Regions from separate parts of the Homo sapiens genome. Here all the other regions are linked to region 1. Evidence: promoter capture Hi-C in 16 types of primary human blood cells and fetal thymus (Javierre and others, 2016). All regions are on one chromosome and are shown on one strand. Each heading gives the region's core, a stretch centred on a gene start or on the middle of the fragment in contact. The rest is flanking DNA. Distances are from core to core; before and after follow the strand shown. Region 1 holds the start of ANKRD27 (ankyrin repeat domain 27). Region 2 holds the start of WDR88 (WD repeat domain 88). Region 3 overlaps GPATCH1 (G-patch domain containing 1). Region 4 holds the start of GPATCH1 (G-patch domain containing 1). Region 5 overlaps ZNF507 (zinc finger protein 507). Region 6 overlaps CEP89 (centrosomal protein 89). Region 7 overlaps DPY19L3-DT (DPY19L3 divergent transcript).

What was found. Contacts are between HindIII fragments. The CHiCAGO score rates a contact against its expected background, and 5 or more counts as called.
Region 2: a contact is called between the fragment with the promoter of WDR88 here and the fragment with the promoter of ANKRD27 in region 1, in 2 of 17 cell types (erythroblasts and fetal thymus). The highest score is 6.9, in erythroblasts.
Region 3: a fragment that was not itself captured here is called in contact with the fragment with the promoter of ANKRD27 in region 1 in 8 of 17 cell types (total CD4 T cells, fetal thymus, total CD8 T cells and 5 more); the score reaches 10.0 in total CD4 T cells.
Region 4: a contact is called between the fragment with the promoter of GPATCH1 here and the fragment with the promoter of ANKRD27 in region 1, in 10 of 17 cell types (fetal thymus, naive CD8 T cells, activated CD4 T cells and 7 more). The highest score is 16.2, in fetal thymus.
Region 5: a contact is called between a fragment that was not itself captured here and the fragment with the promoter of ANKRD27 in region 1, in 1 of 17 cell types (total B cells). The highest score is 7.6, in total B cells.
Region 6: a fragment that was not itself captured here is called in contact with the fragment with the promoter of ANKRD27 in region 1 in 4 of 17 cell types (total CD8 T cells, total CD4 T cells, non-activated CD4 T cells and 1 more); the score reaches 7.2 in total CD8 T cells.
Region 7: a fragment that was not itself captured here is called in contact with the fragment with the promoter of ANKRD27 in region 1 in 1 of 17 cell types (total B cells); the score reaches 5.4 in total B cells.

The regions. Positions count from the first base shown.
Region 1 is chr19:32,673,741-32,676,599 of GRCh38, reverse strand. ANKRD27 (ankyrin repeat domain 27) reads left to right here and starts at 1,420. Exons shown (of 29, transcript NM_032139.3): 1 at 1,420-1,529. RGS9BP (regulator of G protein signaling 9 binding protein) reads right to left here and starts at 752. Exons shown (of 1, transcript NM_207391.3): 1 at 1-752. The coding sequence starts at 336. RefSeq lists enhancers at 56-105, 876-985, 873-1,492 and silencers at 506-565, 1,136-1,865, 1,886-1,935. The HindIII fragment of the contact is 4,511 bases long and covers 1-2,859 here.
Region 2 is chr19:33,130,671-33,133,529 of GRCh38, reverse strand. It overlaps WDR88 (WD repeat domain 88), which reads right to left and starts at 1,416. Exons shown (of 11, transcript NM_173479.4): 1 at 1,085-1,416. The coding sequence starts at 1,360. RefSeq lists an enhancer at 1,410-1,579. The HindIII fragment of the contact is 21,697 bases long and covers 1-2,859 here.
Region 3 is chr19:33,107,579-33,110,437 of GRCh38, reverse strand. It overlaps GPATCH1 (G-patch domain containing 1), which reads right to left. Exons shown (of 20, transcript NM_018025.3): 11 at 422-721. Among named protein-coding and RNA genes, the nearest start is that of WDR88, 23 kb to the left of the region's middle. The HindIII fragment of the contact is 7,119 bases long and covers 1-2,859 here.
Region 4 is chr19:33,079,830-33,082,688 of GRCh38, reverse strand. GPATCH1 (G-patch domain containing 1) reads right to left here and starts at 1,508. Exons shown (of 20, transcript NM_018025.3): 1 at 1,423-1,508. The coding sequence starts at 1,495. RefSeq lists an enhancer at 1,284-1,613. The HindIII fragment of the contact is 10,253 bases long and covers 1-2,859 here.
Region 5 is chr19:32,360,153-32,363,011 of GRCh38, reverse strand. ZNF507 (zinc finger protein 507) reads right to left here. Exons shown (of 7, transcript NM_001136156.2): 5 at 2,394-2,508. Among named protein-coding and RNA genes, the nearest start is that of ZNF507, 16 kb to the right of the region's middle. The HindIII fragment of the contact is 1,320 bases long and covers 716-2,035 here.
Region 6 is chr19:32,945,213-32,948,071 of GRCh38, reverse strand. The region is part of intron 5 of CEP89 (centrosomal protein 89); the gene reads left to right. Among named protein-coding and RNA genes, the nearest start is that of CEP89, 25 kb to the left of the region's middle. The HindIII fragment of the contact is 3,728 bases long and covers 1-2,859 here.
Region 7 is chr19:32,400,772-32,403,630 of GRCh38, reverse strand. The region is part of intron 1 of DPY19L3-DT (DPY19L3 divergent transcript); the gene reads left to right. Among named protein-coding and RNA genes, the nearest start is that of DPY19L3-DT, 3.3 kb to the left of the region's middle. The HindIII fragment of the contact is 3,509 bases long and covers 1-2,859 here.

The DNA of each region.
Region 1 (2,859 bases), core at 171-2,670:
CAGCGGCCGCCGCGGCGCGTGCAGCGGGAACGCGGCGCCCAGCTCCAGCGCGCGTCGCATGTCCGCTTCCAGCAGGTCCAGGCAGCCCGAGAAGGCCACCCAGAGCCGCTCGAACTCGGCGCGCTCGTCGGCGGCCAGGCCCCGGTCGCGCAGCACAGCAGTCAGCCGGGCGCAGGTGGACACCGCCAGCTCCTGCGCCTTCTGGCGCGTCTTTTGCAGCTCCTGCCGCAGGTTCTGCGAGTCCGCCGAGCCACCGACGGTCAGCACCAGGTGGTGGTAGCACGCAGTCGTCTTGTTGAGCCCGTCCAGCAGCGCCTTGCACTCCTCCCTCGCCATCGCGGTGGGCTCCGGCTGGGCCCGGCCGCCCGCGCCCGTTAGCCTCCCCCTCAGCGCGGCAGGATGTGGCTAACCCCCATCCCGGCCTTGGGCCGCGCGGCACGAACGCTCTTCATGGTCCGTGACTCGCTCGGCGCTACCGCCAACGTCCACGGAGCCCGCCCGGGACCCTCGACGTGCGCCTCTGCGGACGGGGCGCGCAGAGGGAGCCCCGTTAGCGGTCCCCCGCTCCCTCGTCCATCCTCCCCAGGCGCACTCCGAGTCACACGTCGTGTCTCTGCACCGCCCTGGCCTCCACGGTGGCTCCCTGCGAAGCTGAGGGTGCGGTCCCCATCCTCCGTGGGTGCCAACTCCGGGGCAAGCAGGCTGCAGAGCCGCGCGCTCCGCCTTAGGCGCTGCCAAGGGCGGCCGGGTAGGGTTTCCTAGGACCCGCCCACCCCGCTCGTCCCGGCCGGAGCTGCCACCCCCTGGATCAGTGGTAGGCGGGGCTCCACGCGGGGAGGTCACGTGTGGGTGGCCCATCCCTCCCTCCCCTTCGCCCCATCCGAGTTCTGGAATGTTAGCGCTCGGGAGATCCAACCCGTTCTATTTTACGGATGGGGAAACTGAGGCCCAGGTAAAAAGCGGGCCAGGCTCCCGCGGAGTTTTTGCCTGTGATGGGACTAGAACCCAGCTATACTGACTCCCGGACCCTGTCGGCGACAGGACGTCGGGTGCCCCGCAGGACTGGGCACCTCCGTGCCCCAAAGCGAGCAGTGACTGGCAATCCGAGGGGCTGGGCGCCGCCGGGGTCAGGTGTCCCTGCCGCGTTGCGCTCACGTTGGTCGGTGCTTCCAAGCGCTAACCCCACCTCTAGTGTCAGCCCGGCTCCCAGCCCCGCCCCTCACGTTCTGGGCACGCGCAGTTGCGGGCGTGGGGCGGGGCCAGCTGGAGTAGGAAGCGTAGGGAGCCGCCTGAGCCCCGCCCCCGGCTGGGCTGGACTCCATGATTGCTCTGCGTACACGTCACTCTGGGAAACGACGGTTTCTCATTGGGTCAGCTGTGGCGCGGCTCCGCCCCACGGCGGAGTAAGGGGTGGGCTATAGGGCCAGATCGCCGCGCGAGGGTGGTGGGCATCGAGGTCCCAGCAGCGGACGAGGGAGGTGCCGCCGTCGCCCAGGATGGGCTGGGAATGAAGCGATGTAGCCTTTTAAGTAAGTGTCCTCGCGCTGGCCTCCTCCTGCGCCTCCCCTCCCGCGGGATGGCTGCGCCTCGGGGCGCGGCGGCCGGGCGGGGCCCGGAGAGTGAGGGGGGAGGGGCTCCCTGCTCTCCGGAGTCCGCTCCCGGGTCCGCCAGGTGGCCCCGCGCCGCCCCAGCCCCCGCGTCCCCAGGTGGGTGCCCGGTGCGCAGCCGGCGCGCCCTGCCCACTCCGCCCCTCGGGTCTGGAGGAGGGGAGCGGTCGGCGCGGAGAATGCACCCTCCGAGCCTCGCTGCGTCGACACCGGCGGGTGTGGCCGGGGTGCCGGGTCCGGCGGTTCGGATCTGGCGGGGCGCGGGGCGGTCGCCGCGCGGTTTCCCGGAGGCCTAGGGTCTGCTGGAGGGGAGCGGCGGGTGGGGGTCCGAGCCGCGCGCGCAGCGGTTGTGGTTTCCGGGGGGTGATGAGGGCGCGGAGCGGGGAATCCCTGGCTGCCGGCCTCTCGCAGGGCGGGGGGGTCTCTGCATTCCCACAGGTAAAGATTGTTAAAGGAAAACTCTTAAGCACCGAGAGATGTTCCGGATTCTGAGTCTGTTCCGTCTTGTGGTTGAAAATGGACTGCCCAGGAGCACACGAGCCACGCGGTGCCCCCTTGGCTGCCCCACGAGGTGCAGGGGACGTGGGCACTCGCGGCCTGTGCTGGGCGAGGGAGCAAGGGACGGGTCTTCGCTGAGGATTTAGAGCATGCAGGGAACGAGGGCTGCTGGCAGTGCTGGAGGGACTGTGAGGCTGCAGAGAGCTCAGATTTTACAAGTTGATGGGTTTCATGGATAGAGGCCCCTATTTTGATTAAAAAATGCACTCTTCCCACTGGCCGAAGAGTAGAGCAGTGGATATTTTTTTTCTTTTCTTTCTTTTCGTTTTTTTCTTTTTGAGACAGGGTCTGGCTCTGTTGGCTAGTCTGGAGTGCAGTGATGCCATCATAGCTCATTGCAGCCTCAAACTCCTGGACTCAAGCAATCCTTTCACCTCAGCCTCTGTAGTAGCTGGGACTACAGGCGCATGCCACTATGCACGGCTAATTTTTAATTTTTTTTTTTTTTTTTTGTAGAGATGGAGTCTAGCAGGTTGCCTAGGCTGGTCTTGAACTCCTGGACTCAAGCCATGCTCTCGTCTTGGCCTCCCAAGGTGTTGGGATTACAGGCACTAGCCACCACGTTTTGCTGAGCAGTAGCTGTTACGTTTCGAGATCAGCCTGGCATGAGGACTGGTGTTGAGGTGGCCTAAGGGTCCGGTGTACTGAGCCCCGGGGCCTGCTGTCACCCAGGGGTCCGTCCTTTAACTGGGTG
Region 2 (2,859 bases), core at 167-2,666, 460 kb before region 1:
TGTTTTGTTTTTGAGATGGAGTGAGATGATCTCAGCTCACTGCAACCTCTGCCTCCCGGGTTCAAATGATCTTGCTGCCTCAGCCTCCTGAGTAGCTGGGATTACAGGCACGCACCACCATGCCTGGCTAATTTTTGCATTTTTAGTAGAGAAAGGGTTTCACCATGTTAGCCAGGCTGGTCTCGAACCCTTGACCTCAAGTGATCTGCTCATCTCGGCTTCCCAAAGTGCTGGGATTACAGACATGAGCCACTGCACCCAGCCAGTTTTTCTTTCTTTCTCCTTCTTTCTTTCTTTTTCTTTTTCTTTCTTTCTTTCTCTCTCTCTCTCTATATTTATTTATTTATTTATTTATTTATTTATTTATTTATTCTGGAGACAGTCTCGCTCTGTTGCCCAGGCTGGAGTGCAGTGGCACAATCATAGCTCACTGCAGCCTTAAACTCCTGGGTTCAAGGGATCCTCTTGCCTCAGCCTTTCAAGTGGCTGGGACCACAGGTGCGCCCCATCACACTGGGCTAAGTTTATTTCTTGTAGAGACGACCTCTCACTATGTTGCCCAGGCTGGTCTCAAACTCCTGGGCTCAAGTGATCCTCCCACCTGGGCCTCCCAAAGGGCTGGGATTACAGGTGTGAGCCACCTTGCCTGGCCCAATTCATTGTTGTTATTATTATTCTGAGTTTCCCGTTTCTTCTGACGCTAACTGTATCTCCTGGACGGGGAGAGCTGAGCCACCGACCCTTGGGCTGCAATTAGGAGCATCACTGTGGGTGGGCCTACCTACGGAGACTCCAAGGTCTAGATGGGGTCACATGGTGGGGCAGAGCCTCCTCCCAGCGAAGAGTCCTGGTTCCCCAGCAGGTGGCAGTGCGGGGAGCCCCCGCCGGCATCCCCAGCACGCCCTGCTCAGGTGGGTCTGACCTTTGCCCACAGATGTACCACAGATGGGGAAATGGGCCTAGGGCCTCGCTGGGGGTCCTGGTGAAGCCAGGTGGGTTTTCCATGGGTCCCCCGACAGCTCGAGCGCCTTCCTCCCGTGTGGGGAACAGGCCAGTGCCCCCTCACCCCAGCGGCGGTTCTGACCTTGGAGAGAGGGTCCTGGTCGCCCCAGATCAATTTCTCCGGCACCTGGTGCTTCTCAGGCAACAGATGCGGTGGTGGTTCCCTGTCCAAGGCCAGGGGGTCGAGGGTGGCCAGCAGGTGCGTGTGCGGGATCGACAGCTTGAAGCGGCCTAAGGCCCTCGCCATGGTCCCCCAGGACAGCTTGCCGGGACAATACTCGCTGGCGGGGGCGGAGGGTGGCGGCAACTTGCATTCCCTGTCATGGGCTGTCGGGGAGCACCGCGGCGGGGAGGCCATCTCGAAGCCCGGTCCGCCGGTGGCCGCCGACAAGCCTGGATGGGAACGGTGGCGCCGCGCGCCCGCGCCCGCGCCCGCACCAAGCCCTTCGGAGGCGCGCGCTACGCTGGGCCCGCGACTTCGCTGCCTCCTCGCCCGCTGGGTGAAAACTAGTGCCACCCCGCGCAGCACAGGTTACCTATAGAAAAATGGGCTTTGCAGCCGGGCGCGGTGGCTCACGCCTGTAATCCCGGCACTTTGGGAGGCCGAGGCGGGCGGATTACCTGAGGTCAGGAGTTGGAGACCAGCCTGGCCAACAGGTTTAGTGAAACCCCATCTTTACTTAAAAAAAATAATAACAAAAATTAGCCAGGCATGGGGGCGTGCGCCTGTAGTTCCAGCTACATGGGAGGCTGAGGCAGGGGAATGGCTTGAACCCAGGAGGTGGAGGTTGCAAAAAAAAGAAAAATGGGCTTTGCATTCTGGGAACCAGGCCGAGCCAGCAAAACCAGCACCCCAGCCTCCAGCCCTCCGCTGTGGTTTCCCTGGCTCCTGTCACAGGGCAATTTCTTCATGTCCTCTGCCTGGGTACAGCTCCTGGCCAACCCACTTCATGACAAAACAGAAAAGGTCAGTAAGTTATGGGGTAGCCCCTGCATGAAATAAGATGCAGTTATTAGGGGTGGGTTTACAACATTTATAATAGATGAGGGAAATATCTGTCACAACCCCAACAACAGTGACAGGGAATAAAATGCTACCACCAGTCAGATAACAGCCCCATAGCTAGAAAAGGACAGGGTGGAATTATTCAAAATATTGAAGAAGGGTGTCATCTTTGGATGATAAAACTAAAAGTGATTTTCTTCCTTCTTTTTTTTTTTTTTTTTTTTTGGTGGAGACAAGAGTCTGTCACCCAGGCTGGATTGCAGTAGCGCAATTTCGGCTCACTGCAACCTCCACCTCCAGGGTTCAAAGGATTCTCGTGCCTCAGCCTCCCACACAGCTGGGATTACAGGTGTATGCTCACCAGACCTGGCTAATTTTTTTGTATTTTTAGTAGAGACAAGGTTTCGCCATGTTGGCCAGGCTGTTTTTGAACTCCTGGCCTCAAGTGATCCGCTGGCCTCGGCCTCCCAAAGTGCTGGGATTACAAGCATGGGCCACCGCACCCGGCCTCTTCCTTCTTTCTGCTTTTAAAATTGTTGTGATCTATGATGCTACTTTCATAATGTAAAATACAAATGCTCAATACTTTATTTTTTGTGGAGACAGGGGTCTCTATGTGGCCCAGGCTGGTCTGGAATTCCTGGGCTCAAGCAATCCTCCCGCCTCGGCCTCCCAAAGCTCTGGGATTACAGGCATTAGCCATCACACCTGGTCTGCACTTTATTTTTCAAAAAGGTCTCCTTGGTACACATGAGGTGGCCTCAGAGCAGGGAGCTGCAGCCGTGTAACCCAGGCTGTGGGTGCACATTCTCCTGCCTGGTTTCCCTGCCTGTCTCAGACACTTTAGTGAC
Region 3 (2,859 bases), core at 178-2,677, 430 kb before region 1:
TCTGTAACGGTTCAATAGCTAACTATTGTTTTAAGTCATATTTTAGACTATGAGTCAGGAATGGATGGTTAGGATCTTCGGATGAGGTGGAAGATGATGCTGATATGAAATGTGAATGCAATGCTTGTAGCAGTCAAGCACTTGCAAACACCAAACGGCCTGTAAGTACCGGCCACCGCCAGCTGTGTTCTCTACTTAAACAGCTAGCTTTGGCCTGAGATATGGAGGAACATAAGCCAACTGTTCTTGCTTTCTGAGGTCAAGAGCCAAGGCCTGAAACCTTTGCACTATTTGCAGCAGGATAAAGCAAAAACACTGACAGAACAGGATACCTCAACTGTAAATATGGGTCTAGGATGAGAACAGTGAGAATATGACCCCGCCCGGGCCGAGATTTGGGACACCCAGGCCCAGCACCCACCTTTCTGACCCTGTTTCATGTGTACTAAGAACTCGTCGTATCGCTTTTGCTTTTCCGGATCTTTGGCGAAAGGCTTGAAGTTGCTGGCTTTTAAGGTGGCCGTCCCACCACCTAATGCCATGTTCCAAGAGCAGTGCCCAGCAGCCGCTGCAGGGGAGAGCTGGGCTCTGCTGCTCTGAGCGTTCTGGGCCAGACTCCTGGCCTTGAGCTGAGCTGCTTTCAGGTCAGTTGCCTGCTTCATTTCTTTGATTCTCTCTTTGTCTTTTTGGGACAGAAATTCTAACACTGAAGTAGCTGAACCTAAATAAAAACAGTAATTAGAAGAGATGAAAAGAGCCATGAGACAACCACATTTACGTTTCTCTGTACATACATTTCAATAACACAAATTTACATAATTGGGGATGAGGATTTTATGTTTAGTGTTTCATTTATATTAATATGTCCCTGTGGACTAGACAGTGATAAAAATTGAGATTCTTCTTCTTATTATTATTATTATTTTAGATGGAGTCTCGCTCTATTGCCCAGCCTGGAGTGCAATGGTACCATCTCAGCTCACTGCAACCTCCTGGGTTCAAGCAATTCTCCTGTCTCATCCCCACCGAGTAGCCGGGACTACAGGCATGTGCCACAATGCCTGGCTAATTTTTTATATTTTTAGTAGAGACAGGGTCTCATCATGTCGGCCAGGTTGGTCTCAAACTCCTGACCTCAGGTGATCCACCCGCCTCGGCCTCCCAAAGTGCTGGGATTACAGGCGTGAGCCACCACGCCTGGCCAATTCCTATGTTTTTTTTGAGACATGGTCTCGCTGTGTCACCTGGACTGGAGTACGGTGGTGTGATCATGGCTCACTGCAACCTCCACCTCTCAGGCTCAAGTGATCCTCCCACCTCAGCCTCCTGAGTAGCTGGGACCACAGGTACACACCACCATGCCCGACTACTTTTTGTATTTTTTGTAGACGGGATTACGCCATGTTTCCCAAGCTGGTCTCAACTCCTGGGCTCAAGAGATCATCCCACCTTGGCCTCCCAAAGTTCTGGGACTACAGGCATGAGCCACTGTGTCCAGCCAAGATTCCTGTTTTATAGTCAGCAAAAATGGAAGTTAATACATGCACACTTACAGGGCACGTGAGTGATTCCAGGATGGGGAACCTGACATCCCCGGCTCCAGACCTGCAGTCCACCACCACTAGCCCTGGTTCCGAGTACAGCTCCCCAGCAAGCCCTCACCAATGGGACAAACACTCATGAGTGCCAGCTCTATGCCAGGACCTGGCCCAGGAGCTTGGAGGGCAGTGGAGACACGAAAGAAGCCCAGGAGCAATACGCTGGCCCTCAATAGAGGAGGGCTATGAAAAAAACAGGACGATGTGACTGAGGGGGGCTTGTGTGAGCGGGCTGGTAGAGGGGACAGGCAGATAACCAGATTATATGGTGGTCGGGGAAGGCTGGAAGAAAGTAACATTCGAGATAAGTCATAAGCTAAAAAAAAAAAGAGCCAGATTCACAAAAATATGAGGGAAGAACAGAAAGGGAGGTACAGCAAACACAAAGGCCCTTAGGCAGTGTCATGGATGACGGCGTGTTCCAGGGGAGGAAAGGAGGAGGAAGACGCTACACTGTGGGAGGGTAAGGGAAGGTGGTGGATGGTGCAGCCTGAAAGGCGGGCAGGGGCGGGGCCGCACAGGGCCTCGTGGGGAGCCTGGAGGTTTCTGTAGGTGGGAGAGGTGTTGGCTGGTATAGTTGGCCTCATCCAGCTGCTGGTGAGGGGAACAGTCTACGGGAGATGGACAGGAAACAAGGAGACCACCAAGGAGACTGCAGCAACGGTCCAGGTGGAGGGGTGGGGCTCAGACCCGGGAGGCCACGGAAATGCAGATGAGTAGTGGACAGAACCCCCACACGTGTGGGTAGAGCCGAGAGGACTCACTAAGGGCCAAGGAGGGTCAGGGAGGGTGCGGGAGGACCGAAAAGAGAGGAGCTAAGAATTAGGCCTCCCGGGGAAGCGGGGAGGGATAGCATTAGGAGATATACCTTATGTAAATGACGAGTTAATAGGTGCAGCACACGAACGTGGCACATGTATACACATGTAACAAACCTGCACGTTGTGCACATGTACCCTAGAACTTAAAGTATAATAAAAAAAAATAAAAATTAAAAATTAAGAAAAAAAAAAGAATTAGGCCTCCTACATCCTGGTCCGAGCAGTGGATCATGGTGGCACCACTTCCTGAGATGAGAAGACTTAGATGAGGAAGCGCAGTGTGTGATGGGGGTGGGGAACCAAGGGTTCTGTTTGCCAATTATACGAGACACCTATTGAGTTCCCCATGGCAGTGAGACCCGAGCCCCTAAGAGTCCAAGTCCACCTCTCATGGTGGGACTTTCCTGCTGCACCCTGCAGGGGATTCTCCATGTCTTTCC
Region 4 (2,859 bases), core at 259-2,758, 410 kb before region 1:
TTTGTTTGTTACAGACAGAGTCTCACTACAATGCCCAGGCTGGTCTCAAACTCCTGACCTCAAGCAATCCTCCCACCTCAGCCTCCCAGAGTGCTGGGATTACAGGTGTGAACCACTGTGCCTGGCCCCTTTCTCAACCTTTTGTAAGCCGAGGGTAGAAGAAGGGCCAGTATCCAGCAGAAGTTTCCACCAGAACTGTTTGTAGGAAATAAAGGGGGCATAAGTGGAGATATCCCAGAAGTACAATCAACCTGGCAGGATGTGGTCAGGGTGAAAAAAGGGAGGGGACCCCCACCAACAGGAGGTCTGCAAATAAATTGTGGCCCAATGATTCCACCATTCTTCCTCTGCCTTCCCTACAGGGCTAGCACAGCCAACAGCCCTTACTGGACACTCAATACATAACTTGCTGAACAAGTCAAGTCGTTAAGTGGAACAGACCAGAAACACAGGAGAGAACCTTGATTCATCTTGCCCCTCACCCCCACATTCCACCAGCAAGTATGGTCAGCTCTGCTTTCAAAATATATCTCCACCCAGACCACTACACACCACCACCACTGCTGTCCCATCCATGCCACCATCATCTCCTGACCTCTTTTTGCTAATCTCCCTGCTTCACTCTTACCCATCCCCAACCAGTGTATTCTCAACATCAAAGATAGAATAACATTAAAAATTGGCCGAGCACAGTGGCTCAAGCCTGTAATCCCTGCACTTTGGGAGGCAGAAGCGAGAGGATCACTTGAAGTCAGGAGTTCAAGACCAGCCTGGGAAACAGAGCAAAACCCTGTCTCTAAAAATCATATATATATCCCTCCCTGTGTAATTTCCCATGACCCTAACCCTAACCCTAATCCTGCACTTAGTACAAGATCCAAACTCTTTACCCTACCAAGTAAGATCCAGCCCCTGTCAGCCCCTCTGACATTCTTTTCTACCTGTCTCCCCCGCTGTCATCTGCTGCAACCATACCCGTCCTGCCTGCCCCTCAATTTCCTAAACTGGCTCCCACTTCAGGGCCTTTGCCACTTTATGTTCCTTCTGCCTGAAATGCTTTCCCTCCAGATTTGCTCATGGTTGTTTTCTTCCTCGGTTTCAAGTCTGAGCTCAAACGTCCTCTCTCGGGGAAGACACTGCCTGAGCACCCCCCGCTCTCACACTAGCTATTCCGTCATTTTCTTGTTTCTATCTCGCCGCCCCCTTGTTCGGCCACGCTTGTGTCTCCCGTCCCTGTAAACCTCTCTCTGTCGCTGCAGAAGGTGAGCACCCCGAGAGCGCGGCTAACGCCTCCCTCGTCGCCGTGTTCCCAGCGCTGGGAACGATCTAACAATGGTCCAGCACCGACTTGTGCTTTTGTGGCCCGAATCCTGGGCCCTTGGCCTGTTTTCCACAGGCTCCGCCGGCCCACGCGGCCCGCACCTTCTTCCAGAGGCTCCAGCCCGGTCCCATAGCTGACCAGATCTTCTTCGCTGTCACTGTCCCGCGCCGCCATCCTGCTCTTCCGGGCCCCGCCCCCTCGCTACGGCGGCCTTGGCAGGCCAAACGCCTTTCCTCTTTCTCCTCCGCGAACCCCGGTGATGCTGGAAGGCTGGGTCCGCGGGCGGGGGAAGGTGTCCTAGCGGCCCGAGCCTGCGCTCCGGATTCTCAGGCCCATCCTGTGGTAGGCCGTCCCAGGCAGGAGTTGCCTCGGAGGATTTGGCAGCCACGACATCCCATCCTAGCCCCGCGATGTGCGGGTGAGGAGGAGACTCCTGGCATAAGCTGGAAGCCACCCAACTGTTCCCTGCGAGGCGACACCGATGCCTGCCCAGCCCCCTACCCCCGTCCCTCGCGCCAGCCCCCTGCCTTGGCAGCAGTCACTGCCCAGCCCCGTCCACTCCCACCGCCCACCCAGCCACCTCCAGGGAAATGGCTGAGCTCCCAGATTTCATGCTCGCCCCGTGGGGCTTCGCTTTATTTTTATTATTATTATTTTTTACTTTTATTTTGGGTTCAGGGGTACATGTGCAAGTTTGTTATATAGGTAAATTGCATGTCGCAAGGGATTTGGGTTACAGATTATTTCCTCCCCAGGTAATAAGCATAGTACCCAATAGGTAGTTTTTCCGATCCTCACCCTCCTCGTACCTTCCACCCTCAAGTAGGTCCACCCTCAAGTAGGCCCTGGTGTTATTCCCTTTTTTTTTTTTTTTTTTTTTGAGACAGAGTCTCGCTCTGTCGCCCAGGCTGGAGTGCAGTGGCCGCGATCTCAGCTCACTGCAACCTCCGCCTCCCAGATTCAAGTGATTCTCCTGCCTCAGCCTCCTGATAGCTGGGATTATAAGCGTCCACCCCACCACGCCCTGCTAAATTTTTGTTTGTTTGGTTGGTTGGTTGTTGTGGTGGTTTTTTTTTTTTTTTTCTTGAGACAGAGTTTCACTCTTGTTGCCCAGGCTGGAGTGCAATGGCACGATCTCGGCTCACCTCAACCTCCGCCTCCCGGGTTCAAGCGATTCTCCTGCCTCAGCCTCCCTAGTAGGTGGGATTACAGGCATGCACCACTATGTCTGGCTAATTTTGTAATTTTTTTTTTAGTAGAGACGGGGTTTGTCCATGTTGGTCAGGCTGGTCTCGAACTCCCCACCTCAGGCGATCCATCCACCTTGGCCTCCCAAAGTGCTGGGATTACAGATGTGAGCCACCGCACCCGGCCATTTTTTTTTTTTTTTTTTTTTTTTTTTGTATTTTTAGTAGAGACTGGGTTTCACCATGTTGGCCAGGCTGGTCTTGAACTCCTGACCTCAAGTGATCCACCCGCCTCGGCCTCCCAAAATGCTGGTATTACAGGCGTGAGCCACTGCGCCTGGCACCTGTCAT
Region 5 (2,859 bases), core at 126-2,625, 310 kb after region 1:
ACATGTTAATCCGTAATGCTCTGCGACCAGAAATCCCATGAAGGCAAAGGATGGTGAGTATTTAAAGAAAGTTAAAAGGAGAGCCATGACATTAGAAAATAAGACTTATGAGGAAAAACTGATAATAAGTACAAAGAGGGAGATATGACAAAACTGTATCTAAGGCATAACCACACCAAACCCAGTGACAAAGTGGAGTGTGAATAAATTTGGAAAATAACAGACTGAGAGTTCTCTGATGTTACACAAAGAGGATGCTCACGGGATGTTGCCCGTTGGTAGGAAGACCCTAGGACAACTGCAATGAATCCTATGAATCTGTGAATATTTTAAGAACACAAGAAAACATCCCTGAGACACTGACAGCTATCAAAATGAATCTTTAAGCTGCAAGACTGATCTAATAAAGCAGATGTAAAACCTTCAACAGAACTAGAATCGCTAACCTTTTTCCTAAGTATTTGAGGGTTTACTTGCTTATTGTTTGTCTACAAGTTCCATGACAGCAAAGATGACGTCTGTTTTGTTATGACTGTAGTCCAAGAATCTAGCACGGCCCCTGAAGCATAATATTTGCTCAATAAATATTTCTCCATGAATGAAAGAACAATCTAATTCTGGACCCGGAGAAATGTTATTTTCTTCTTACTTAAATCACATGAATCTGGCACGGTATGTCTAAATTCAAGGATACCAAAAATATAAAGGCAAAGCTTTCTCCTCCTATCAGGTAAACTAGTGTTCCCTGTTTCCATCACATTCTCCTAAACATTTCCCAGTATAAATCACGAATGTAAATATACTCAGTCCCACCTATTAAATAGACTGATTGGACATGGTGTAACCATGTAATCCCAGCACTTTGGGAGGCCAAGGTGGGCGGACACTTGAGGCCAGGAGTTCAAGACCTGGCGAAACCCCGTCTCTAATTAGCTAATCATGGCACATGCCTGTGGTCCCAGCTACTTGGGAGGCTGAGGCATGAGAATCACTTGAACCCGGGAGGCGGAGGTTGCCGTGAGGTGAGATCACTCCACTGCACTCCAGCCTGGGTGATGACAGAGCGAGACTCTGTCAAAGAAAAAAAGGAAGGAAGGAAGGAAGGAAGGAGGGAGGGAGGGAGGGAGGGGAGGGAAAGGAAAGGAAGGAAAGGAAGGAAGGAAAGGAAGAAAGGAAAGGAAGAAAGGAAAGGAAGGAAGGAAACGAAGGAAGGAAAGGAAGGAAGGAGGGAGGGAGAGAGGGAGGGAGGGAAGAAAAGGAAAGGAAGGAAAGGAAAGGAAGGAAAGGAAGAAAGGAAAGGAAGGAAGGAAAGGAAGGAAAGGAAGGAAGGAAAGGAAGGAAGGAAGAAAAGAAGGAAGGAAGGAAAGAAGGAAGGAAGGAAGACACTGAGGAGGACTGAGGCAAGGTCAAACACCTTCCACAGAGTTTTAAGACTCTGCAAACAGATGTACTTTCTGAAGAGTGATTATAAGTAAGTCTGCTGGTTTGCAAATTAAGCACATATTAAATATTCGAAACCATACACAGATCACCACACTTTGGGATTAAACAATGACCTTTTATGGCACAATCTGTCAGGTTTTCATTGAGATTAATACAATAACTTTCCCACACTCACTTGTATCATATCTACAGAATCTGGGGAGAGAGTTAAACCTGCTAAGTTTTGACAAGGGGGTGAAAGTTCATGCGCATTGCCTAGCACTATCACTGAGAATGCCTATATTTTCTGAAATATATATCTGAATTTGCTTTTGGGAAAAATCAAGTAATGAAATTAAATGACTTATTCTACACATACTAGCTTAATTTTGAAAAATGGACTCTTTCATAGAAAATTTTATTGCCTTTAAGTTTTAAGGATCTTTTGCTGAATACTGAGTACCTTACTGCCAAATTACTGAAATGAACTCTAAGGCATTGAAAATTGCTATGAAATTTATACCCATATGAAATGAAAACATAAAATTGACAGATAAAGACAATTTCCTATGTATCAACTAGACAAAATGCCTACTGTCCTAAGATTCAAGCTTAAAGTTCACATCTTAACAAATCAAACAAGACATAATACCAGCCAGGTGCAGTGGCTCACGCCTGCAATCCCAGCACTTTGGGAGGCTGATGTGGGAGGATCCCTTGAGGCCAGGAGTTCGAGGCTGCAGTGAGCTGTGATCATACCACTGCACTCCAGCCTGGGCAATACAGCAAGACACTGACTCAAAAAATAAATAAGTAAATATATAAAACAACAAAATATAAAACCAATTAGTGAAAATTTCTTACTTCTTAACCTGTGTTTCAGTAAGTGCTATACATTTTTATTTCATTTTATTTCTTTAATATAAAATATTTTAATACAAACATTAAAATTCTAGAATCATAACACTTACCTGTACGGCTTATCAGAGTTATGGATTCGCCTGTGGTTTCTGACACCAACATATGTTGTACTTGTATAATCACACACATCACATCTATATTGTTTCTGGACTGAAGACTTATTCCCTAGACAAGGTATTTCAGAGTTTTAGTAGCAGGCTTTGACAAGATTCAAATGACAGCATTTACATTCCATTGTAAATGAAAATTTATACCACACAGTTGTATTAATATTTCAATCACGGCTTTCTCACTGTTTTAACAAGTCTGAAGTGGTTTTATAGGTTTTCCTGCATATACACTATCAGCAGATATAAACTGAACATCATCTGACCTATAAACACAGATAGGTTGGGATGATTCCTGCATAACCATGTACAATATTCTAAGTCATAATGAACTTGCTTCTGGCTATGTAGGAGCTAAATTAATCAGAGACACCCTGTTGATCTGTATCACCAAATAGGTGTTACTCTA
Region 6 (2,859 bases), core at 117-2,616, 270 kb before region 1:
ACTTTGGAAGGCCAAGGCTGGAGGATCCCTTGAGCTCAAGAATTTGAAAGCAGCCTGGGCAACACAGGGAGACATCGTCTGTACAAAAAGTAAAAATAAAAACATCAGCCAGGCAAGGTGGTGCACGCCTACAGTCCCAGCTACTCAGAAGGGCGAGGTGGGAGGATCACTTGAGCTCGGAAGGTCAGGGCTGCAGCAAGCCATGATTGCACCATTGCATTCCAGCCTGGGTGACAGAATGAGACCCTGTCTCAAGAAAATAAGGCTGGGTGTGGTGGCTCGCTCCTGTAATCCCAGTACTTTGGGAGGCCAAGGTGGGTAGATCTCTTGAGCTTAGGAGTTTGAGACCAGCTTGGGCAACATAGACTCTCTCTACAAAAAATGGACATCCCATCTCTACCAGAATACAAAAAAGTAGCCAGGTATGGTGGCATGTACCTGTGGTCCTAGCTAGTCAGGAGGCTGAGGTGGGAGGATTGCTTGAGCCCTGGAGGCAGAGGCTGCAGTGAGCTGAGATCGCACCATTGTACCCCAGCCTGAGTGACAGAGTGAAACCCCATCTCAAAAAAAAAGGAAAAGTTATTCTGCAGTCAATTGCTTCTGGATATTAGGTTGTTTTTAAAGTACAAGGTGCTGTTTTTTTTTGCCATGTTAACTAGGCTGGTCTTGAACTCCTGGGTTTAAGCAATAGAGGTAGGGATAGGATAGGGTCTCCCTAGTCCCAGTGCTTGGGGAAAGACCTGGCCCACAGTGGCCCACTAGGAAAGATCTGTTGGGTGAATGAGTACGTGGACATATATCTATTTGATTATCCCAATGAGAGAATTCAGCATGTTATAACAAAGGTAGGGAAAAGTTTTCAGTTTCCTAAGAGGTGGCTCACATTTGAGAAGTGACAAGGAGAGCCAGGCATCAAGTGGACAACCAATAACTACTTTATCAGCAGCCCTAGAGTTGCTCGGGCTCAGGGAAACGTTTCTGTAAATCATTTCTCAGGGAACACAGAATGCCAGCCTCATAATCCTGGGGCCAGAAAACACCTGTTGGTCAGTTGGCGTATTTTTTAAATATTAGATTTATGTAAAAGGTGCATCTCTTTTTAAATTACAAAAGTAATACTGTCTCACTGTAAAAAAAATACATAAATATATAAAGTGCATTAGTCCGTTTTCACGCTGCTGATAAAGACATACCCAAGACTGGGTAACTTATCAAGAAAAAGAAGTTTAATGGACTCATAGTTCCCCGTGGCTGGGGAGGCCTCACAGTCATGGCAGAAGGTGAAAGGCACATCTTACATGGAAGCAGACAAGAGAGAATGAGAACCAAGAGAAAGGGGTTTCCCCTTATAAAACCATCAGATTTCATGAGACTTATTCACTACCACGAGAACAGTATGGGGGAAACCGCCCCATGATTCAATTATCTCCCACTGGGTCCCTCCGACAATATGAGGGAATTATGGGAGCTACAATTCAAGATGAGATGTGAGTGGGGACACAGCCAGACCATATCATAAAGCTAAACACACTTAATTGTGCTCCCACAGATAAGATTTTTAACAATTTAGAGAGTATATGTATATAAAGTGCATGCTGTTTTGTTACCTTTCTTTCATCTCACAACACATGCCAAATGTCTTTCTATGTCCCCAGATTTGGTTCTCTCCTGCCTTGTGTAACATCTGCATTGTGTGGCCTGATGTAGCATATATCAGTCAAGGTCCAATCAGGAGTCAGAACACACACAATGACTTGAAGAGGGAAAATTTACTATAAAGAATGATTAATAATAACAGGTTTGGGAGCTGCGCATGGTGGCTCACACCTGTAGTCCCAGCTATGCAGGAGGCTGAGATGGGAGGATCACTTGAGCCCAGGAAGGAGGTCAGGGCTGCAGTGAGATGTGATAGTGCCATTGCACTCCAGCCTAGGTGACAGAGTGAGACCCTGTCTCTAAAAATAATAATAATAATAACAACAGGATTGCCTACTAAGGAGTAAAGAGAATACTGAAGAATTCAGGAGTAGCAGCTCAGGGGAGCAGCCACTGCTCCTAGGGCTGATGCTTCAGGAGGAAGCAGCTCTGGAGGAGCCTCAGCCAGAACCCAAGATCCACACCTTCCTGGAGAGGATGTAGCTGTGGCCTGCCGGGTGGCCAAGAAGTTTGCTGAGGGGCTGCCCTAATGAAACTCACTGGGATAGGGGGCCAGGAGAAGCCACCATGGGGAGGTACTGCATGTTGCTGGCCACCCAAAAAATTAAAGAAAGGATCTGCGCATGAAATCCCATTTGTAATCCCAGCTCCTTGGGAGGCCAAGGCGGGAAGATTACTTGAGCCTGGGAGTTCGAATCCAGCCTGGGTAATATAGTGAGACCCTTGGACTCTAAAACCAGAAATTAAAAAAAGAAATTAATGCATGGAAGGAAGAGCCAGAGGAAGCTGGAATCAGAAAGCAAAGCCCCAGCTCCTCCAGCGTCTCTCCAGCACCCTCTACAGAGGAAGCCTTCCATGGTACCAACTGGCTGGGTGGAAATGCTGCAGTAACATGAGCTGGCCATGAAGGTGGATTTGGAGATGAGAGGCCGTGGCCACCCACATACTTGGGAACGTGCACCTGGCACACAGGTGGTGGTTGGGAGGGATTGCAGCTCCTGCAGTGATGCCTGGTTTGTGGTGGGCATTAAAAGCCCCTGCATACTTCTGAAAAACCCCAGACCCCAAACTGTAATTTAGTGGCTCAGGGCTGGGCCCAGAGGTCTGTACTTTTTTTTTTTTTTTTTTTTTGAAACATAGTTTCACTCTTGTTGCCCAGGCTGGAGTGCAGTGGCGCGATCTTGGCTCACTGCAACCTCCGCC
Region 7 (2,859 bases), core at 246-2,745, 270 kb after region 1:
GTCTCCCTGGTTGTCTCTGCCAGGGCCACAAATAGTTGTGCTGTGCATCTCAAAAGTGTGGTCTGGGGATCTGCAGCGTCACTGTCACCATCACTTGGGAGGTTGTTAAGAAATGCATGTTATCAGGCCCTACCCCACGCCTACTCAATTTAGAATCTGTAGGGCTAGGGGACCACTAATCTTTAAGAAGTTGATATGGTTAGGCTTTATGTCCACACCCAAATCTCATCTTGAATTGTAATTCCCATAATCCCCACCTTTCAAGGGAGAGACCAGGTGGAGGTAATTGAATTATGGAGGCAGCTTCCCCCATGCTGTTCTCATGATAGTGAGTTCTCACAAGATGTGATGGTTTTATAAGGGGATCTTGCCTCTTCGCTCAGCACTTCTTCCTGCCTCCTTGTGAGGAAAGTGCCTTGCTTCCCCCTTTGCCTTCTGCCATGTTTGTAAGTTTTCTGAGGCTTCCCCAGCCATGCTGAACTGTGAGTCAATTAAACTTCTTTCCTTTATAAATTACCCAGTCTTGGGCATTCTTTGTAGCAGTATCCTTTATAGCAGTATGTATAGCTGTATGGACTAGTACAGAAGTTTTCCAGATAATTCTGTGCTCGGAAAAGTTTGGGAACCACAGCAGAACCTTGTTACTCAACATGTGGTCTGTGGGCTGTGCAGCATGGGCATCACCTGGGGTCTTCTGAGAAAAGCCAGGTCTCAGGTCCTACCCAAGACCTGTGTAGCCAAAATCTGCATTTTAATATGACCCCCAGGTCATTTATGTGTACATCACACTTTGAGAAGCACTGCACCAGAAATCTTTTAACACTGTTCATTACATCCATCCCATGGAAGTATCTTGTCTTGGGATCCCGAGGGTGTGAGTTCTTCCGTCTTACTGGCTTTTTCCTGTCTGATACATGATGTCCATTTTAAAAATTTTATTTATTTTAACTTTTTGAGGTAGAGTCTAACTTTGTCACCCAGGCTGGTGTGCAGTGGGGTGATTTCGGCTCACTGCAACCTCCGTCTCCCGGATTGAAACGATTCTCCTGTCTCAGCCTCCTGAGTAGCTGGCATCACGTGCTGGCCACCACGCCCGGTTAATTTTTGTATGTTTAGTAGAGACAGAGCTTCACCATGTTGGCCAGGCTGGTCTCAAACTTCTGATCTCAAGTCATCCACCTGCCTTGGCCTCCCAAAGTGCTGGGATTACAGGTGTCCTCCACTGCGCCCAGCCCAGTGTTCATTTTTCAATTGTTTGACTTAGTATAAACACTCTCCATCATTCCTGCCTTCTGTGACAACAGACTGTGCGTGTTTCCTCTGTCTACCTTTCAGGCATTCCTTTTAAGTTTCATGCAGCTACTCCTCCTCCCTCCTCCCTTCTCTTTCTCTTCTTTCTTCTTTTCTTCTTTCTTCCTCTTCCTTCTTCTTCCTCTTCCTCCTGTTCTTCCTCCTCCTCCTCTCTTCTTTCTTCTTCTCCTCCCTTCTCCCTTTTTGGAAAGAGGACTTACTGTGTCATCCAGCCTAGAGTGCAGTGGCTGAATCATGGCTCAGTGCAGCCTTGCTCTCAAAGGCTCAAGCAATCCTCCCATCTCATCTTCCAGAATAGCTAGGTTACAGGCATGCACCACCATGCCTGACTAATTTTTTAAAAATTTTTTTGTAAAGATTGGGGGTGGCAGGGGGTCTCTCTGTTGCCCAGGCTGGTCTCAAACTCCTGGGCTGCAGCGATCCTCTTGCCTCAGCCTTCCAAATTGTTGGGATTACAGGCATGAGCCACCATGCCTGGCCTCCTCTTCCTCTTAAAAATCAATGATTCTGTGGCCCGTGGATCTGATTTCCACTGATACTCTGATAACTCCTGTTTTTATGTCCAGGTGTATCTCCTGGTCTCCAGGTGCCATATGTCCACTGCCTATTGGACATTTCCATGTGTGTAAACACCTCAAACTCAACATGTTAAACCTTTTTCTAATCCCCACACTTGCGGTTCCTTCTGTGTGCTCCATTTACCTTATTGCTCAAATCAAGAGCCTAGAAGCCATCCTTGATTCCTCTCTATTGTGTAATCCACACATCCAATCATCCATTGAGTCCTGTTGGCATTTATCTCGTAAATACCTCAGATCTTGTTCACTTTGCTCATCTCTGTTGCCACCACCGTAGTCCATTTACCTGTATGTAATAACCATAGTGATCTTACTAAAATATAAATCCCTTGGAGGCGTTTTGGCTTTATTATAAAAATTAAGCTCCATGACACAGCTTGTAAGGACTGCCACGAATCAGGCTCTGTTTCCCTCTTCAACCTCTCCTTCACTTTCTATTCACATAAACCTCTGTCAGAGGTTTGTCACGTGGCTTATAAAAAGTCTTAAACCCTCTTTAATTGACTAGGTACTCTTCAGCCTTTAGACCTCAGCTTACACGATCTGTGCTGCCTCATGTTTATCCTCATACAGTATCCGGTTCCACAGAATCATGGTTTTTCTTTGTGAACAACAGAATACCGTGGAAGTGACAGTGTGGGACTTCTGAGGCTAAGTCATAAAAGACATCCCAGTTTCAGCCTTAGCCTCTCTTGGATTGCTCACTTAGCGGGGATGCCAGCCACCATGTAGTGAGGACACTCAAACTGCCTGTAGAGAAGGCCACGTAGGCAACAGCCTGCACCACCTTGGCAGCCATGGGAGTGAGCCATCTTGGAAGTATTAGGTTGGTGGGACATTAAAAGTAATGGCAAAAACCAAGATTACTTTTGCACCAACCTAATAGATCGGCCAGCTACAGGTCAGCCTTCAGATGGCGGCATAAGAGATCTTGGGCCAGAAGTGCCCATCTATGCCACTCCCAAGTATT